5 separate regions of the Homo sapiens genome follow, and all the other regions are linked to region 5. The links are contacts of gene promoters, found by promoter capture Hi-C in human tissues and cell types (Jung and others, 2019). All regions are on one chromosome and are shown on one strand. Each heading gives the region's core, a stretch centred on a gene start or on the middle of the fragment in contact. The rest is flanking DNA. Distances are from core to core; before and after follow the strand shown. Region 1 has its middle 9.3 kb from the start of ZNF718. Region 2 overlaps ZNF595 (zinc finger protein 595). Region 3 has its middle 63 kb from the start of ZNF732. Region 4 overlaps ZNF718 (zinc finger protein 718). Region 5 holds the start of ZNF721 (zinc finger protein 721).

Region 1 (2,700 bases), core at 188-2,687, 380 kb before region 5:
GGTCTCTCTCTGTCACACAGCCTGGAGTGCAGGGTTGCACTGCACTTGATTTTCAGGCATCTAAGGCAGGATATTGCTTAAGCCCTGGAGTTCAAAGCTGTGGTGAGGTATGATCCTGCCACTCCACTCCAGTCTGGATGACAAAACAAGACCCTGTGTCAAAAAAATAAAGTGTGCAGTTTAATAAGTTCCAAAATACATGTGCACCCATAAAGCCATTACCACAATCATAACAATGAATATGCCCATCACACCTCCAAATTTCCTATGTTCCTCGGTAATCTCTTGCTCGACCCCTCCCTGCCTCTTCCCTTCACATTGTTAGGCAAGCAATGATCTTTTTTCTGTCAGTATCAGTCAGTTTGTTTCCAGAGTTTTATAGAAATGGAATCATAACTCTGTCTCTCTCTGTGGCTTCTTTCACTCAGCATAATTATTTTGAGATTCATCCCTGTTGAAGTATGTGTCAATAGCACATTCTGTTTCACTGCTGAGTCATATTCAATTGTGTGGATATGTCACAGTTTGCTTATTTATTCACCTGATGATGGACATTTTCACTGGTTCCAGTTTGGGGTTATTACAAAGAAAATGAAACATTTGTAAGCAGTCTTTGTGTGAACATATGCTTTCCTTTCTCTCTTTCTCTTGGGCAAATATTTGGTAGTGGAATGGCTAGATTATATGATAGGTGAACATTTACCTGTTTAGGAAACTCCCAATTTTTTTCTCAAAGTAGTTTTACCATTTTACATTCCCACCAACAGTGTGAGTGTTCCAGTTGTTCCACATGATAATATAAACTTGGTATGGTTAGCCATTTTCATTTTAGCCATTTTAATATGTGGAGAGTAATTTCTCATTTTGGTTTTAGTTTGCATTTTCCTTATTTCTGTTGCTTCCAAATACAGACTACTGTTTATGTTGGGCATCTTTTTATGTGCATATTTGCCATTTGTATATCTTCTTTTGTCAAAGACATTTGAACAAGAGCAACTCCATCTCGAAAAGGGGCTGGGTAAATAGAGGCTGAAACCTACTGAGCTGCATTTCCAGGAGGTGAGGCATTCTTACTCACAGGATCAGACAGAAGGTCAGCACAAGATACAGGTCATGAAGACCTTTCTGATAAGACAGCATGCAGTAAAGAAGCCAGCCAAAACCCACCAAAACCAAGACGGTGATGAAAGTGACCTCCGGTCATCCTCACTGCTCATTATATGCTAATTATAATACATTAGCATGCTAAGAGGCACTCCCACCAGCACCAAGACAGTTTGCAAATGCCAAGGCAACGTCAGAAAGTTACTCTATATAATCTAAAAGGGGGAGGAACCTTCCTCATTCAGGAAAACTCACGAATAATCCACCTTCTGTTGAGCATACAATCAAGAAATAAGTATAGTCAGTAGAACCAGCTCATGTCCCATCTCTGCCTGTGGTACAGCCAGTTTTCATTCCTTTACTTTTCTAATAAACTTGCTCTCACTTTACTCTATGGACTCGCCCCATATTCTTGCTGGACAACCAAGAACCCTCTTTTGGGGTCCAGATCAGGACCCCTTTCCTGTAACACCTTGGTGAGGCCTATTCAAATCTTTGGTCAGTTTTAAAAATCAGTTTTTTCCGTATACACTCTGGAAACATGTCTCTTATCAAATATATGATTTGCAACTACTTCCTCCCAGTCTATGGCTTATATTTTAAAAATTAAAAGTTTTTAAATTTTTTGATAAAATCTAATTTGTTAATTTCTTATTGCACGCATTGTGTTTTTCATGTCTTATGGAAGAAATCTTTGCTTAATTCATTGTCATAAAAGTTTTCTTTTAAAAGTTTTCATCTAGAGACCACAAAGTGAAGTGATCTGGACCTGGAGATGTTTTTGTGAGCAAGTTTTTAACTAGAAATTTAATTTTTTTTTAGAAATTTAATTTTTAAAATAAATACATGCCATTTAGATTTTTTTTTCTTGGATCAGTTTTTGTAGTTTGTGTCTCAAATGTATTTTAAGTTCTAAAATTTAGTGACATAAAGCTGTTCAGACTATTTCCTTATCCTTTTTACATCTGTGAACATCTGTAGCTATGTCACATCTTTTAGTCTTGATATTGTTATTTTGTGCCTGTTCTCTTTTCTCCCCTGACTGACTAGTCTAGATATAGGATAATCAATTTTATTAATTTTTTTTAGAAAACTAGCTTTGATTCTATTGACCTTTCTCTCTGTGTGTGTGTGTGTGTGTGTGTGTTGTTTTCTATTTCATTGATTTCTGTTTTGGTCTTTGTTATTTTCTCTTTTCTCTTTGGGTTTAATTTTACTTTTTCTAAATTTTTAAGTTTAAAGCTTAGGTCATTGATTTAGACCTTTTTTTCCCCTAATATGATTACTAATGATATAAATTTACCCCAAGCTCATTTTCAGAGGCAGCTCACAAACTTTAGTGTTTTTATTTTCATTCAGTTCAAAATACTTTCTGATTTTCCTTTTGATGTCTGCTTTGACCCATGGATTATTTAGAGCATGTTGACTTTTTATCATGGGTTTGGGGCAATTTTATTGTGATGTGTCATAATTTTCTTTGCAATTCTTGCACTTTGAACTTTTCATAATTTACCAAATTTGCTAATTTTTTGGCTGCTTCTTCAAATATATTTTTGATCCCCTCCTCTTTCTCCTCTCCTTTGGGGACTGCTATCA
Region 2 (2,700 bases), core at 120-2,619, 410 kb before region 5:
TATTCATACTGGAGAGAAACCCTACAAATGTAAAGAATGTGGCAAAGCTTTTAACCAATCCTCAGGCCTTATTATACACAGGAGCATTCATTCTGAACAAAAACTTTACAAATGTGAAGAATGTGGCAAAGCCTTTACTCGGTCCACAGCCCTGAATGAACATAAGAAAATTCATTCTGGAGAGAAACCCTACAAATGCAAAGAATGTGGCAAAGCCTATAACTTATCCTCAACCCTTACTAAACATAAGAGAATTCATACTGGAGAGAAACCCTTCACATGTGAAGAATGTGGCAAAGCCTTCAATTGGTCCTCATCCCTTACTAAACATAAGATAATTCATACTGGAGAGAAATCCTACAAATGTGAAGAATGTGGCAAAGCTTTTAATCGGCCCTCAACCCTTACTGTACACAAGCGAATTCATACTGGCAAGGAACATAGTTGAATGACATTTCTAGTAATCTCTAATTCCAGTGTCTTTACACAGCAAATAAATTGGAGAATATTGCTCCCATATAAACTTGTATTATTTTTCTTATTTTAAATTTTTTAAAATTTCTGTAGGTACATAGTATGTGTATCTATTCATGGCTTATTTGGATTATTTTGATACAGGCATATGACATGTAATTATCACATCAGAGTAAATGAGTTATTCTTCACAAGCATTTGTTCTTTGTATTACACACAGTCCAGTTATACACTTTAATTTTTTTTTTTTTTTTTTTTTTTGAGACAGAGTCTCGTTCTGTCGCCCAGGCTGGAGCGCAGTGGTGCGATCTTGGCTCACTGCAACCTCCACCTGCTGGGTTCAAGCAATTCTCCTGCCTCAGCCTCATGAGTAGCTGTGACTACCGGCAGGTGCCACCATGCCCAGCTAATTTTTTGTATTTTCAGTAGAGACAGGGTTTCACAATGCTGGCCAGGCTGTTCTCGAACTCCTGAGCTCATGATCCACCCACCTCGGCCTCCCAAAGTGCTGGGATTACGGGTGTGAGCCATCGTACCTGGCCACTTTAATTATTTTTAAATGTGCAATTATTTTTTTACTACAGGTTATTTTATGATTATAATAAGTATATGAGTATAATTATAATTCACACATTTCTAAGTCATGAATGCTTTTAAAAAATGTTCCATATTTATCTTTGAACATGTAGCATCTCTTTCCGCAAATAAATGCAGACTTTGGTTTTGATTTACATGGAGTTAAATATGTAAATGTATTGCTCTAAAGATAAAATTTAGGTGTAAGAAAATTATGGGGCAAGCAGTTGAGTTTCTGTGAGAGTTTGTATCTATTTTCCAAGGAAAATAGCAATATTGGAACAAAGATTATTTTAATAAGGTGGATATTTTACTAGAAATCTAGAAACCTAAAACATTCTGAAATCAAATTTATATTTTCTTCTATTACTGTAAAATTTAACGGATCATTGTTGAGACTCTCCCATGCAAATTCTGTTTTTATTTGTCTGTTACTCATGCTAGAGCTATAATTGACTTCTTTCTTATTTTTTTTATTTTTACTTTATGAAGTATTTATTATGTGAGCTGGTCAGAAATTATAATTTTATAAAATTTAGTAGCAAACACAAAATATTTAGATGCAAGTTCATAATTCGTGTATTAAGTTATATTTTAGTTAGGACATTTCATTTTATTGCTTTAGTTGGATAACCCTATATGAGCCGTTTAGTTATTTGTTTCACTTTTTATAATTGACATAAATGAGTTTATTGTGCCAATTTTTTCAGGTAAGTACTGGTGAAACTTAATAATTCATGGGATGTTTTGATATATAATTATAGTAAGCATAAGAAAGTACTGGGTAATAGATGCTCCATAATTAGCCATAAATATTATTCTTTCTGGAGTGAGTTTGTAGCTCCAAGTAAGAGAATGAAAATGTCTATAGTGAAGAAATGGCAGTCTGCATGTGGAGAGAACATCTGTTACCAGGCTGCAAAACTGACTCATTCTGAATTTAAAGAGAACCTCTGATTTTATTTTCTAATTATCTTTAGTTTTGGAATATCTTTATGGTTTATTCCCAGCTATGTATGCCTCACACCCCTTCTTCTTTGTGTTATGGCTACAGTCTTCTCACTGTTCTCTTTTTGCCATGTAATTTCATACAGACTTTCTATGTTCTGATTAGAAGTTTGAAATTTTTCAGTGTGGTAAATTGTTTTTAACTGGAGTGTTTGAGGTTATTTATAGCTTATCAATGCAATGTTTAGATCACTTAATTGAGATAAGTACTTTACTGTCTGCAGGGGCATTGGTGGAACATGAAGTGAAACACCAGGACCTGGTTCTGGAGTTATGGAGGGCAACTCCAATCCCCAGTGTGGGCCCCAGCCTCTGGCACACTGGTGCATGCCAAAAAGTACTCCTCAGGCCACCACTACTCTAATCAGTGCCCTTGCTACCATCACTGTTGTCATCTGTGCTTGCATTCCCCTGGTGCCTGGAAGTTCTGTTCTCCAGGTGGCAGATGACTGCTCCCGGCATTCACACGTTTTTATTCCATCTGTGGAGGAGTACTTTATAATTCTGACTGTCTTCTAAAAATCATTTCACTTAAGATAGCTCATTTAAATGGGATTATATACTCTTTGTCACTATGTTTCTGGTATATTTCACTAAATATGATGTCTTAAAGTTTTATGCTTATTGTAGCATGTGCATAAT
Region 3 (2,700 bases), core at 69-2,568, 260 kb before region 5:
CCCAGCCTGACACCCATAAAGGGTCTGTGCTGAGGACGATTAGTAAAAGAGGAAGGCCTCTTGCAGTTGAGATAAGAGGAAGGCCTCTGTCTCCTGCATGCCCCTGGGAACGCAATGTCTCAGTGTAAAACCCGATCATACATTTATTCTATTCTGAGATAGGAGAAAACCGCCCTGTGGCTGGAGGCAAGATATGCTGGTGGCAATGCTGCTCTGTTACTCTTTGCTACACTGAGATGTTTGGGTGGAGAGAAACATAAATCTGGCCTACGTGCACATCCAGGCATAGTACCTTCCCTTGAACTTATTTGTGACACAGATCCCTTTGCTCACATGTTTTCTTGCTGACCTTCTCCCCACTGTCACCCTGTTTTCCTGCCACATTCCCCTTGCTGAGATAGTGAAAATAGTAATTAATAAACAAACACTGAGGAAACTCAGAGACTGGTGCCGGTGCAGGTCCTCCGTATGTTGAGCACCGGTCTCCTGGGCCCACTGTTCTTTCTCTATACTTTGTGTCTGTGTCTTATTTCTTTTCTCAGTCTCTCATACCACCTGATGAGAAATACCCACAGGTGTGGAGGGGCAGGCCACGCCTTCATCTGCCACCCAACGTGGGTGCCTTTCTCTAGGGTGAAGGTACGCTAAGAACATGAGCAGTGAGGACAAGTCGACGAGAGATTCCTGAGTACATCCACGGTCAGCCTTGCGGTAAGCTTGTGCGCTCAAAGGAACCCAGGGTAACGATGGGACAAACTGAAAGTAAATATGCCTCTTATCTCAGCTTCAGCAACCCACGGCGGTGGCGCTTAATCCTACAGCACCACCTAGTGGACAATGTAGCACACTGTATGAAATCATTGATTAAGCCAGAAAACAGGGAGATCTTGAGGCATGGCAGTTCCCAGTAATTTTACAACCGGTACCAGCCGGGGAAGAGACAAGTAGGAGTGCCTACCCAAGCTGAGGCTAGATATGAATCTTTCACCTTGAAAATGTTAAAAGATATGAAGAAAGGAGTTATAAACAATATGGACCCAACTCCCCTTACATGAGAACATTATTAGATTCCATTGTTCATGGAAATAGACTTATTCCTTATGATTGGGAAATTTTGGCTAAATCTTCCCTTTCACCCTCTCATTTACAGTTTAAAACCTGGTGGATTGATGGAATGGAGTACAAGAACAGGTACGAAAAAATCAGGCTACAAATCCCACTGTTAATATAGATGTAGACCAATTGTTAGGAACAGGTCCAAAGTGGAGCACCATTAACCAAAAATCAGTAATGCAGAATGAGGCTATTGAACAAGTAAGGGCTATTTGCCTCAGGGCCTGGGAAAAAATTCAGGACCCAGGAACAGCCTGCCCTTCTTTTAATTCAATTAGACAAGGCTCTAAAGAGCCATATCCTGACTTTGTGGCAAGATTGCAAGATGCTGCTCAAAAATCTATTACAGATGATAACACCCAAAAAGTTATTGTAGAATTAATGGCCTATCGAATGCAAATCCAGAATGTCAGTTGGCCATAAAGCCATTAAAAGGAAAAGTTCCAGCAGGAATTGATGTAATTATAGAATATGTGAAGGCTTGTGATGGGATTGGAGGAGCTATGCATAAGGCTATGCTAATGGCTCGAGCAATGACGGGGGTCACTTTAGGAGGACAAGTTAGAACATTTGGGGGAAAATATTATAATTGTGTTCAAATTGGTCATCTAAAAAAGAACTGCCCAGTCCTAAATAAACAGAATATAATAAGCTATTACAGCAAAAAATAAAGAGCCACCTGGCCTGTGTCCAAGACGTGGAAAAGAAAAACATTGGGCTAATCAATGTCATTCTAAATTTGATAAAAATCGGCAACCATTGTCGGGAAATGGGAAGAGGGGCCAGTCTCAGGCCCCGCCACAAACTGGTGCATTCCTTATTCAGCTGTTTGTTCCTCAGGGTTTTCAGGGACAACCCCCACAGCAAATACCACCACTTCAGGGAGTCAACCGATTACAACAATACAACAGCTGTCCCCTGCCACAGCAGGCAGCACAGCAGATTTATGTGCCGCTCAAATGGTCTCTTTACTCCCTGGAGAGCCCCAACAAAAGATTCCTCCTACAGGGGCATATGGCCCACTGCCAGAAGGGACAGTAGGCCTTATTTTAGGGAGATCAAGTCTAAATTTGAAGGGAGTCCAAATTCATACTGGGGTAATTGATTCAAATTATAAAGGGGAAATTCAGTTAGTGATCAGCTCCACTGTTCCCTGGAGCGACAATCCAGGTGATGATAGAATTGCTCAAATACTGCTTTTGCCTTATATTCAAATTGGGGAAAAGAAAACAGAACAGGAGGGTTTGGAAGTACCAACCCTGCCGGAAAAGCTGCTTATTGGGATAATCGGGTCTCAGAGGATAGACCCGTGTGTACAGTCACTATTCAGGAAAAGCAGTTTGAAAGATTAGTGGATACCGGGGCTGATGTCTCTATCATTGCCTTAAATAGATGGCCAAAAAATTGGCCTAAACAAAAGCCTGTTACAGGATTTGTCGGTGTGGGCACCGCCTCAGAAGTGTATCAAAGTGCCATGATTTTACATTGTCTAGGACCTGATAATCAAGAAAGTACAGTTCAACCCATGATCACTTCTATTCAAATCAACTTATGGGGCCGAGACTTGTTAGAACAGTGGCATGCAGA
Region 4 (2,700 bases), core at 57-2,556, 360 kb before region 5:
TGTTTGCTGTGTGTATTTATTCTTTGGAGAAACATTTTCACCTCCTGTTCATTTGTTAATCATATTACTTACTCTTTGTTGACTTTTTGGAGTTTATTCTGGGTGTTAACTTCTGTCAAATGTATACTTTTTACTTTTTTTTTTCTTACTCGGGACTGACTAAATGTTTATTTTAATGTTCAGAGATAAATTTAATGTAGTCCATTTTTCTGTGTTTTTAAATTTGTTACTCATGTAGTTGATGCTATATGCAAGAAAACATTGCCAAGACCAATGTCATAATCTTTCTTCCTGTATTTTCTTCCAAAAATTGTAGAGTTATGCTTCTTACATTTAAATATTTAATTTATTCAAGATAGTTTTTGTATATGGTTCAGGATTTTAAATTTTTATGAGTACACAGTAGCTTTTTGTATCTATGGGTTACATGAGATATTTTGATGTAGGCATGAAATGCATAAAAATCATATCAGGGTAAATGGGTATTCATTACCTCAAGTGTTTATTCTTTGTTTTACAGACAACCTAACTACATTCTTTTAGTTATTTAAAAATGTACAATTAAATTGCTTTTGACTATAGTCACTCTGTGTACTAGCAACTGCTACATCTTACTCTTTCTAATTATTTTTCTACCCATTAATCTTCCCCACTTCCCCCAGTCCCCTGCTACACTTTCCAGCCTCTGGTAACAATCCTTCTGCTCTCTGTCTCTATGAATTAGTTTAATTTTAGCTCCAGCAAATGTGTGAGAACATGCAACGTTTGCCTTCATGTGCTTGGCTTATTTTTCTTAACATAATGACCTCTAGTTCCATCCATGTTGTTGAAGATGATGGGATCTTGTTCTTTTTTATGATTGAAAAGTACTCTGTTATGTATGTGCACCACATTTACTTTGTCCATTCATGTAAGGGACACTTAGGTTGCTTCTAAATTTTGGCTAATGTGAACACTGCTGCAGTGAAAATGGAGCTTCAAATATCTCTCTGATGTCCTGATTTCCTTTCTTTTATGTACATACCTAGCAATGGGATTGCTGGATAATATTGTAGCTTTATTTTTCATTTTTTGAGGAACCTCTAAACTGGTCTCCATGGTCATTGTAGTAATTTACATTCCCACCAAGAGAGTACTAGAGTTCAACTTTCACTTTTCTCCACATCCTCACCAGCATTTATTAATCACCTGACTTTTGGATAAAAGCCATTGTAACTGGGGTGAGATAATATCTCATTGTCATTTTGATTTGCATTTCTCTGATGATAAATAATGTTGAGCACCCTGTCATATGGCTTTTTGTTATTTGTAGGCTCTCTTTTGAGAAATTTCTATTCAAATTTTTTGCTTATTTATCATCAGATTTTATCCTATAGAGCTGTTTGTGTGCCTTATGTATTCTTGTTATTAATTCCTTATAGGCAGTTTCCAGATATTTTCTCCCATTTTATGTGTTGTCTCTTCACTTTGTTGATTGTTTCACTTCCTGTTTAGAAGCTCGTTAACTGATGTGATTCCATTTGTTCATTTTTGCGTTGGCTGCCTGTGCTTGTGGGGTATTACTCAAGACATCTTTGTTCAGTTTAATTTCCTGGAGAGTTTCACCAATGTTTTTTGTAGTAGTTTCATAGTTTGATGTCTTAGATTTGTCTCTAATCCGTTTTGATTTAATTTTTTTTAGATGGCAAGAGATAGAGGTCTAGTTTTATTCCTCTGAATATGGATATTCAGTTTTTGTAACACAATTTGTTGAAGAGACTCCCCCATTATATTGAGGCAGGAAAATAGAGTCTGGAGGCAGAAAACATAAGACCACTTCACACTTCACCTTTCCATAGGGCATGGGCCATAAATAACTTTGTAACTTTATTTCATCCTCTCCATTTACATAGGGCATACTAGGGGGTATTTAAACTCCCAAAAATTCTGTAATGGGGCCTTTGAGCCCCTACGCTTGGGCTTTTTCCCACACTGTGGAGTGTATTTTCATTTTCAATAAATCACTTCATGCCTTCCTTGCTTTGTGCGTTTTGTCCAATTCTTTGTTAAAGACGTCAAGGACCTGGACACCTACAACTGGTAACGTATATTTTGGCCAGCCAGGAGGAAGAAGTAAGCCCAAAGTTTGGGATTCATTTTTCTCTCTTTCCTTTCTGCTCCATACAAGAGCTTTCTCTTTTCATTTCCAACTTGGAACACTTGGTGGGCAGCACCTAAACGTGGAGGCAACTGCAGGTTTCTGGCTGTGGCCTGTGAAACTAATGGGTTTCCGTGCAGAGAAGGCTGACTGCCACCTCCTGGTTTGCTTAAGGAACCTGGGTCTTTTTCATTTTTTTTTCCTTTATTTCTCAGTCTTTAAGTCGCTGTTTATAATTGCCCTGCCCAGAAGGGGGAATGACTTTTTTTTTTATCTTTTCTGCACGTGGTCCCCGATCCCTATGTGTGGCGCAGTTCAGAGCAAACTCGCACATGTTTTAAGGGACTTAAACCTTCTTATGCTAAATTCTTCCCTTACCGTACTCAACTGGCTACGGAACAAAAAGGCCCACCCGGCATCCAGTTCTCATTGCAGTTCATGGCTATTTTTATAAAGCTTATAGTGTGCTCTGGAGGTGCCCACCTAAGGTCAGAGACATCTGACACTGAGATCGGATCCACAGGAGGATACTCTGTGGGTCCTGCGGACCTCAACCTTCCCAA
Region 5 (2,700 bases), core at 188-2,687:
CTACTAAAAAATACAAAAAAAAAAAAAAAATTTGACGGGCGTGGCGGCGGGCGCCTGTAGTCCCAGCTACACGGGAGGCTGCGGTAGGAAAATGGCGTGAACCCGGGAGGCGGAGCTTGCAGTGAGCGGAGATGGTGCCACTGCACTCCAGGCTGGGCGACAGAGCGAGACTCCGTCTCAAAAACAAACCAACAAAAAAAAAACAGGCCGGGCGCGGTGGCTCATGCCTGTAAATCCCAGCACTCTGGGAGGCCGAGGCGGGCGGATCACGAGGTCAGGAGTTCAAGAACAGCCTGACCAACATGGTGAAACCCCGTCTCAACTAAAAATACAAAAATTAGCCGTGCGTGGTGGCACGCACCTGTAATCCCAGCTACTCAGGAGGCTGAGGCAGGAGAATTGCTTGAACCCGGGAGGCAGAGGTTGCAGTGATCTGAGATCACGCCACTGCATTCCAGCCTGGGCGACAGAGTGAGATTTCATCTGAAAAGAAAAAGAAAAAAAAAAAAAAAAAAAAAAAAAGAAGGACATTGGTTCTGTCCAGAAAGGCGGGGGCAACTTGGAACAGGGAGGGGGCTTCCAGGTCACAGGTAGGTGACAGACAAATGGTTGCAGTTTCTGGGTTTCTGATAAGCCTCTCCAAAGGAGGCTATCAATATGCATTTATCTCAGTGAGCAGAGGAATGACTTTGAATAGAATGGGAGGCAGGTTTGTCCTGAGCAGTTCCGAGCTTGTCTTTTCCCTTAGTTTAGTAATTTTGGGGCCCCAAGATTTTCCTTTCAGAAAAAAGAAAATGTGGTATATATACACAATGGAGTACTATTCAGCTCTAATAAAAGAATGAAACCCTATCATTTGCCACAACACGGATAAACCTGAGGATATCATGTAAGCAAAATAAGACACAGAAAGACAAATACCTCATGATCTCACTCATGTGGCATCTTTAAAACGAAGTTAATCATTAAGATATTTACCAGTTGTCTGAGGTATTGGGTTGAATTTTCTTTTTTTTTTTTTTTTTGAGACGCAGTCTCGCTCTGTTGCCAGGCAGAAGTGCAGTGGCGCGATCTCGGCTCACTGCAACCTCCGCCTCCCAGGTTCAAGCGATTCTCCTGCCTCGGCCTCCCGAGTAGCTGGGACGACAGGCACCCGCCATCACGCCCCGCTAATTTTTTGTATTTTTAGTTGAGACGGGGTTTCACCATGTTGGCCAGGATAGTCTCGATCTCCTGACCTCGTGATCCGCCCGCCTCGGCCTCCCAAAGTACTGGGATTAAAGGCGTGAGCCACTGCACCCTGCCTTCCAAATTAAAAACTTTTTAAAACCTCGTACCTCGCCGTGGGCGGCGACCGTCGCGGACTCGCCGGGAAGACGGCCCCACGGAGCCGGGAACACCGCCCGCTGTTCGTATGTCCGAGGTGACGCCCCGCTGTGGCGGGCTGGCGGAAGTGACGCGCTGCTGTGGCGCGCCGGCGGACGTGACGCCACTGTCGCTGCGACGATAAGGCCTGGCGTTATTGCTTAGAGGCGGCTACCTGGAGCCGGAAGCGCGGCTGCAGCAGGGCGAGGCTCCAGGTGGGGTCGGTTCCGCATCCAGCCTAGCGTGTCCACGATGCGGCTGGGCTCCGGGACTTTCGCTACCTGTTGCGTAGCGATCGAGGTGCTAGGGATCGCGGTCTTCCTTCGGGGATTCTTCCCGGCTCCCGTTCGTTCCTCTGCCAGAGCGGAACACGGAGCGGAGCCCCCAGCGCCCGAACCCTCGGCTGGTACGGACCCCTCCCCGGCGTCTCCGCTCCCCTGACCCCACATCCCCTAGAAGACCTTTTTTCTGAGCCTCGCTGCTCGGATTTCTTCTCGGCGCTCCCCGGTGGTCTCTTCCATTATGGTCCCCACCTCAGAAATTTTTTTTAACCGCTCCAGCGTCTCTTTTCTGTATTCTTACAACTTTGTGGCAACCACCTCTACTGGCCCCACTTCGACCTTCCTTCCTGATCACCACAAAGTAAGCTGTGTCCATACCTGGGATCCAGCCTCTCCACTTCTACTCGTCCAGAGCTCCCGCCCCTTTCCTGAGCAGCCTTTGGGTCACTCCCCGTTATAGGCGCCCTTTTTGCCCCCTAGCACACAACAGATAAGACCCCTGCCGATCCCCTCGCGTTTTGGTCTCTTATATTCCTCCAAGATGTTTTCCCTGCCTAGGGGCTAAGGCCTCTCTGCGTTAGGCCTCTTCCTAGGCTTCACCTACCCAGCCATATACAGCAAGTAAAGGCGCCCTGGTTCTGGACCACTTGCACACATCGCCAGCCGCTGACCATGTAAACGCAGTATGTAAACGCCCAGCCATCCCGTAGCTGCAGCTCTGCGTTTTAGGTCAAGCTCCCTAAATGTCCCATTCCAGGACCCTTACGTAGGGATTCTCCTACCCCAGTACTCTTCACCATACTGAGGATAATTCACTGCTTGCTACTGTGGGTCCCTAAGATTACTCCTGTTAACCCCCGTCCTTTCCCCCCAGCACTACCTACCAAGTACAAGTCGCCTCCTTTTGGGTTGGGTTATGTAGATATCGCAGGGTATGTGCTGGAGAAGTAGGTAGAAGCTAGATTGTGAAGGTGCTTGATGCTAAGGAAAGTTTAGAGTTCAATTTCCTTTTTTTTCTTTCAAACACTTAGGAGCCAGTTCTAACTGGACCACG

The links. The method cuts DNA at HindIII sites, captures the fragments that hold promoters and counts their contacts. A contact is called where the count stands out against the background at its distance.
Region 1: a fragment that was not itself captured here is called in contact with the fragment with the promoter of ZNF721 in region 5 in 1 of the 25 tissues and cell types used here (dorsolateral prefrontal cortex).
Region 2: a contact is called between a fragment that was not itself captured here and the fragment with the promoter of ZNF721 in region 5, in 1 of the 25 tissues and cell types used here (mesenchymal stem cells).
Region 3: a contact is called between a fragment that was not itself captured here and the fragment with the promoter of ZNF721 in region 5, in 1 of the 25 tissues and cell types used here (lymphoblastoid cells).
Region 4: a contact is called between a fragment that was not itself captured here and the fragment with the promoter of ZNF721 in region 5, in 1 of the 25 tissues and cell types used here (spleen).

Annotation. Positions count from the first base shown.
Region 1 is chr4:113,833-116,532 of GRCh38, forward strand. No RefSeq gene overlaps it. Among named protein-coding and RNA genes, the nearest start is that of ZNF718, 9.3 kb to the right of the region's middle. The HindIII fragment of the contact is 4,823 bases long and covers 1-2,700 here.
Region 2 is chr4:87,004-89,703 of GRCh38, forward strand. It overlaps ZNF595 (zinc finger protein 595), which reads left to right. Exons shown (of 4, transcript NM_182524.4): 4 at 1-1,205. The coding sequence ends at 448. Among named protein-coding and RNA genes, the nearest start is that of ZNF595, 35 kb to the left of the region's middle. The HindIII fragment of the contact is 4,411 bases long and covers 1-2,700 here.
Region 3 is chr4:241,601-244,300 of GRCh38, forward strand. It overlaps the pseudogene ZNF876P. Among named protein-coding and RNA genes, the nearest start is that of ZNF732, 63 kb to the right of the region's middle. The HindIII fragment of the contact is 5,231 bases long and covers 1-2,700 here.
Region 4 is chr4:137,619-140,318 of GRCh38, forward strand. All of the region lies in intron 3 of ZNF718 (zinc finger protein 718), which reads left to right. Among named protein-coding and RNA genes, the nearest start is that of ZNF718, 14 kb to the left of the region's middle. The HindIII fragment of the contact is 4,199 bases long and covers 1-2,700 here.
Region 5 is chr4:497,719-500,418 of GRCh38, forward strand. ZNF721 (zinc finger protein 721) reads right to left here and starts at 1,438. Exons shown (of 3, transcript NM_133474.4): 1 at 1,338-1,438. PIGG (phosphatidylinositol glycan anchor biosynthesis class G (EMM blood group)) reads left to right here and starts at 1,492. Exons shown (of 13, transcript NM_001127178.3): 1 at 1,492-1,771; 2 at 2,678-2,700. The coding sequence starts at 1,618. RefSeq lists enhancers at 724-1,589, 1,153-1,632, 1,590-2,453. The HindIII fragment of the contact is 23,753 bases long and covers 1-2,700 here.